Linked DNA regions of Homo sapiens: region 2 is linked to region 1. The links are contacts of gene promoters, found by promoter capture Hi-C in human tissues and cell types (Jung and others, 2019). All regions are on one chromosome and are shown on one strand. Each heading gives the region's core, a stretch centred on a gene start or on the middle of the fragment in contact. The rest is flanking DNA. Distances are from core to core; before and after follow the strand shown.

Region 1 (2,867 bases), core at 95-2,594:
GGGTGCTGAGGCAGAAGAATCTCTTGAACCCGGCAGGCGGAGGTTGCAGTGAGCCAAGATCGAGACACTGCACTCCAGCCTGGGCGACAGAGTGAGACTCCGTCTCAAAAAAAAAAAAAAGTCAATGTGTATGTGATATGTGTGGTAATTCTCAGTTGACCAGCATATTCTGTATATCAAAATATGTGCTTACCTAACCAATTTACACACCGGTCACTTGTGAACAAGCCACCTTTTTACCTCGTTGTCCTGTGAGATGCAGAACCACGCATATTTTAGAGCTTAGGCATTAGAACTTTTCCTTTTTCAACTTATTTCTGGGCCACATCCACGTCCCCAGTTTCTCTGGAAAAGGCTGAGAAAACTCCTAAAGCGCAACAAAGTGTTAAGTTGCTGACACACGAATTACAATTAGGGTCACCGTCAAGGGAGCCGATTTACGGCCCCCCTCCTCCGTTTTCTTGTTACCTATCAACGCGGCTGCATACACTAGCAGGTAGCAGCACCTGTAATTAATTTGCCCCCACGTGTCTCATTTGATGGGGGGGGGCGTTTCCAGCTCTGATGTGCGCGGCGTGGAAACAGTATTAAAGCCGCTCAGGACAAGGAGATGTAAGGCTCCCAGAAAGACCTCCTTACTTGTTCCGAACTCGAGTTATGAAGAAGACAGCGCATGGTTTATTGACCAATGAAACAACCAGAGAACTTTCTTCTAAAGGTTTTAAGGAAGAGTGATTACACTATATAAATAGCGCTATTTCAGGTTTGAACAATTTGAGAGGCCCGTTGTAGCCTTTCAACTCCTCCTTCCTCACATAATCTAAGAGAAAAGAAGACTAAGATAGTTGCAAATCTCAGGGTAGGTCCTCACGGAGGAAAGACGAACACTGGCCTGACCCTGGGCTTTAGAAACCCATGGACAACAGGAAGGAAGCTTATTAACCCCTCTCTTCCCCCTCCCTCTTCTCCCCGGTGGAGAATCAGCTCCTCCTCCTCCCGGTCGTGAGACCCTGGTGCAAAATGCAAACAACCGCCCGCTTTCCCCACCCTGCGCGCTTCTCCCAGAGGAGGGAGAGGGAAGAGGCGAGGGCGCAGCCCCAAGCCGAGTCCAGCAAGTCTGTCAATCGGACGTGAACGTCCCGACGAGACAACTTGAACCTCAGGGCCCTCGCGCCAGCCGGACACCGCAGGTACCCCCTTTACCTGCTTCTCTGCTGGGTTTGCATCCGATACCCCAACTCCTAGCCTCATTTTCCCCCCAGCCCCATAATATTCCGGACCCCTGCTCCCCGTGCAGGTGGTGCAAACGCCCCTGCTCTCCGGCGCCCCCTGCCGGGAAGAGGGAAGGCGGCGGCGGCCGCGGAGGAGCAGGACGCTTGGTCCGGACGGAGCTCGGCGCTGGGAAGAAGCCGGGAGCTTCCCTGATGGTGCCGCCGCCTCCGAGCCGGGGAGGAGCTGCCAGGGGCCAGCTGGGCAGGAGCCTGGGTCCGCTGCTGCTGCTCCTGGCGTTGGGACACACGTGGACCTACAGAGAGGAGCCGGAGGACGGCGACAGGTAAGCGCTGCAAGCCCCAGCGGAGGGCGAGCTCCTGCTTGATGCGCGCCCGGCTCGCGGGGTGCGGGCGGTCCTCCCCGGCGCCCACTCCCACAGCGATCCGCACGCCCTCACTTCTCCGGGGATAAGGAGAGTGCTCAGCTGTCCTGGGCGACACTTCCCTCCGCTCCCGGGTATCAGCCTTTGCGCCCTGCCATCCGTGGGTCGCGTCAGGGATACCCTTCGCCCCGCGTTCCTGCCTCCCCCCGGGTGCCACACTGGCTGGCACAGCTCGTGAACCCCGCTTCCTTTCTCCTGGAGCTGGTTCGCTTCGTCGTGACCCTCGCGTGGCTCGTCCCTGTGGCCGGAGTCTGCCCCGCGTACGCGTTTGGGGACCAGCCCCTGCCCAGAGCGCCGGGACGGGGAGCCTGGCGATCCCCACGCGCCAGGGATTCCCCAGCGCGCGCTGCCCGCCTCCGCTCTCCCGCTGAGAATCGAACATTTCCTCTGCACTTTTTCATAGAGAAATCTGCTCAGAGAGCAAAATCGCGACGACTAAATACCCGTGTCTGAAGTCTTCAGGCGAGCTCACCACATGCTACAGGTAAGCCTGGGGGCTCTGCGGGCTGTTCGCCACTGCGCACCGGGGCTGGCTGGGGAGGCGGCGCTGTAAAGGAGGGGTTTGGAGACGCGCTTGGGACCGGAGCAGCTTTTACGCTGGAACCTGCTGGGTGCGTGCCGCGCGGTGCGAATCTTTGAGGGTTGGTTGGATCGGAGTCAGAGCAACACTGAGCAACTGACTTTGCGTCTAGGGTGTGTGCCCTGAGATCCTGAGGATGGTTGCCGCTCCCTGAAATACTTGTGTGGAAGTCTGTGAAGGAGATTGGATTGGATTTTGGGTGTAAACAGTGGGGCATAGCAAACACGGGTGGCTGCTTTCGTATTTGTGTTTTGTTTTGAAAGTACAGCGTCAACAAGGCAATTCTTGGCACTTGTCTGTCTTCTGACCTTCTGTTGGGGCAGAGTGTGGCTGTCACGGCCTCTGGACAAAAAAGTAGGGGGAGGATTGTGAGTGGTTGTGTTGAGTGAAAACAAAAAGATTGTTGGGGCAGAGGAAAAAAGTCTTTCTAAAAATGTGGGCCACAGATTCACCTGGGTATTTGTTAAATGAGTGACCCGGGTGCTTGTTAAAACTAAGCGTGGATGGGGCTAGGGAATCGGTAGTTATAAAATGTTCCCCAGGTGGTTCTTGTCTCTGAAAGGAGAGAACCACTGTTCTGCTTGCAGCCTTTTGGAGATGAGGGTTGATTTAGGTTTTTCACCATTGAATTCT
Region 2 (3,249 bases), core at 112-2,611, 46 kb after region 1:
TTCTTTAGCTGGGAAAAATGTCTTTCCCATTTGGCTCTGAGTCTGAGCGGGACTCCGAGTGCTCTCTCACAGTGGTAGCTGCTTCTCCTCTTTCTTTCTCTTCATTGTTATAAAATGTTAGTTTTATAGACCTAAGCTTTCTTAAATTTATAGTATTTTATTCTAGGCTATGGAGTTTACATTAAAAAAAAAGGGGGGGAGTCAGTTTGTGTTACCTTTACTGATCCTACAAACCATGCCGAAGGAACTGGAGGAATTTACCCCATTCACCTTTGGGCTCAGGCTGGTCCCTGCCTAAGTGGCAGAGTCCCAACGGTGCTATTGATGAGCAGTACCTGTTGATAATCAGGTGGCATCCTCAACTTGTGTAACCCATGAGTTGGCTGAGTTTTTCTTGATTCTTCGATTCCAAGGCTGAGATTTTTAAAGAAAGGTGTAGTATGTAAGTGAAATGGAATACTATTCAGCCATCAAAATGAAATCCTGCCATTTGCAGTAACTTGGATGAAACTGGAGGTCATTGTGTTAAATGAAATAAGCCAGGAACAAAAAGACAAATATCACATGTTCGCATTCACATTTAGGAGCTAAACAAAAATTTGAACAGATGATAGAGTGGAAAAATAAGAGACTGGGAAGGGTGGGAGAGGGAAGGATGAAAAGAAATGGGTTAAAGATTAAAAACATACAGTAAGATAGAAGGAATAAATTCAATGATTGATAGCAGAGCAGGATGACTATACTTAACAAAGATGTATTGTATCTTGATAATGGACACCCTGAATACACTGACTTGATTGCTACACACTGTATATGTGTAAAAAAATTCTCATGTACCACATACACTTTCACAAAAAGCACTGGCTTTCCACTTCCCTTTCCCAGGACTGATATTTACATGAACTACAAGGTGGGGCCCAGTGCCTTTCTCTGGAGTTTGAAGACACACCGCCACATCACTAGTTCTACTTTATTTGTAGATGGAGCATGTCCTTTTCTCTGACGGTCTTGCCTAGAAAAATGCCATATTTAGAGCTGCAGAAGATTAACTCATTCCCTGTCAATCACGTTCCATCTCAGGAAAGATCCTTGCTAAGGTCTGCTGAGCCATAGCTAACACATTCTTTGATTCTCAGAAGGAAACTAATAGTGCAGAAAAATCTTGATTTAGTTCTGTGAATGACTGCCAGCCTAATCCCTCACAGAAAAAGGAGCTAAACTGAGCCCAAGAGGATGAACCAGCGTTTGGCATGCAGTCTCGTTTAAAAACCTGTCCCAAAAAGGTGGTGGTAGTTTTCCATTCAGAATTGCCTGGTTTTGTTCCCATAACCCGGTGGTATGGACGCTCATTTTCCAATGCCAGCAAGAACTGGGGCAGGAAACCCCAGTGCCTGCAACAACTCATGTGTGTCAACTTGCTTCATGGTGCCAAGGAACACTTCCTAAGTAAGTAGAACGTATTTTCCCTGGAACACATTGTAATTGGTGAGATCCTAGGTTCTTATCTTTCTATAGCTTAGGCTTGTTGCTTCTATTCATACCTTTGAAGAAAGGGAATTGGGTAAAAAGTCATCACAATTTTGGATGATATTAAGAAATCCCACCCTATATCCAAGTTGATTAGCTGGCTGTGGCGAGGAAAAGGTTAGTTCTTAATAAACTTCAGCTATTTACCTTGACCCCTAAGTGATGGAGTTTCTCAGGCTATGCCACAGTCTGTCTGTCTTGAAGCTATGTGGATGATGTTCCTCTCCATTTTCCCTGGCATACAGGCCAGGAAAGGAATCTTTGTTTCCTTATCACTCATCTGTTCCTGCTTCTGCTTGGCCACCGAGGACTAAGCCTATTTCCAACTTCAGAGCCCCTTGCCCAGGTACAGGATCGGTAGGGAGGATGGGCTTGTTCTCCAGTACAACATGCAAGGCAGTGAGAGTGGAGAAATTCATGATGAATAAAGATGTTTGGTAACCAGAAGAGGCGGCTGTAAATTCCAAGCAGAGAGAGACTTAGAGGGAGAAGTGCGGTTCTGGAATGCGTGGTGAGCTTTCCCAGGGCATCAGAAATACTTTACAATTCAAATTCCGGCTGGGATAATAACTTCAGAGGAAATTGCACTTAGTATAAGCTGGTGCTGAGGTCTTCTCTGAAACGATTATCCCGCACACTAACAGGATTAGGTACCTTTTAACGCGCCAGACTTTCTGAACCCAGTCACGTTGGGAGTTTCCCATGGGATCGTGAAAAGCTGAAGGGAACAGGAGGCTAAATGTCATTACATGGAGGAACCTAGGGAGGAAGGGGGTCACTCTAGAGGTCTGGAGCCTCTTCTGCTTGGAGTGGAGAGCTTGGATGCTGCTTTTTGGGTGTGCTGGGCTTGGTCTCTCCCATCTCACCTGACTTTGTATCTGGGCAGGGGTGGACAATGGAAACTGCCTTAGTGCTGTATATCTGTTTATTTATTTTTAAAAGAAACAGTTCCCTCTTATGATTCTGAGAATAATTATGGTTCTGTGAGCAGAAGCTTCTGAAAATTAGTTCTGTCTGTGGATTCTGCCATATTTGAAGTCACACCTGTGGCCTTGAAGCTGGGAACCAAGTGGAGGAAGGAGAGCGGACTTTGGAGGGTGGCTCCCAGCTGGGTGGAGATGGCTCACCTGTGCTCCCCCACCCCCAAGTGCCACTAAAACAAGTGGGGAAGGCCTGTCTGGGACCCCTCCCTCCTTTCCCATGTGCCCCTTGAAGATGCTCTTCCATGGTCATTTCTGGTCAGTGGGACCCCAAGGCTCAGAGCTCCAGGCCAGAGCCCCAGCCTAGTGACTCTTGGAGTGTCAGCACCTAAACTGGGATGGCCCCAGCCCGTAACATGAGCTCTGTGAGTGCTGGAGCATGTGGGCTGCTTGCATTCATCCACCCCCACTTTTACTTTTGTGTTGTGAGACAGGAATGAAAAGGGCATAGGTTACTATTACAGTCCAACAGCAGCCTGAGATGGCAAGATGTTACATTTGAAAGAGCATGGGCTTTGGATTCAGCAAGAATGAGGAATGGGAATCCACATTCTGTCCCTTGCTAAAGTGTAGGCAGAGGGTCCTTGCCTTGACATCTCTGAGGCTATTTCTGCATCTGTAACACTGGCTGTGAGAATGATGTAGTTGATCTGTGTAAATGTCTGTCTGTTATTATGGTGCTTTATTAACAAGAGCTGCTATCATTACACGTAAAGCTTTAACTTATAAAGGACTTTTTCAT

What was found. Contacts are between HindIII fragments. The study calls those that stand out against the background at their distance.
Region 2: a fragment that was not itself captured here is called in contact with the fragment with the promoter of CCBE1 in region 1 in 5 of the 25 tissues and cell types used here (IMR-90 fibroblasts, adrenal gland, bladder and 2 more).

The regions. Positions count from the first base shown.
Region 1 is chr18:59,695,900-59,698,766 of GRCh38, reverse strand. It overlaps CCBE1 (collagen and calcium binding EGF domains 1), which reads left to right and starts at 1,344. Exons shown (of 11, transcript NM_133459.4): 1 at 1,344-1,555; 2 at 2,058-2,138. The coding sequence starts at 1,425. The HindIII fragment of the contact is 11,314 bases long and covers 1-2,867 here.
Region 2 is chr18:59,649,425-59,652,673 of GRCh38, reverse strand. The region is part of intron 2 of CCBE1 (collagen and calcium binding EGF domains 1); the gene reads left to right. Among named protein-coding and RNA genes, the nearest start is that of CCBE1, 46 kb to the left of the region's middle. The HindIII fragment of the contact is 5,358 bases long and covers 1-3,249 here.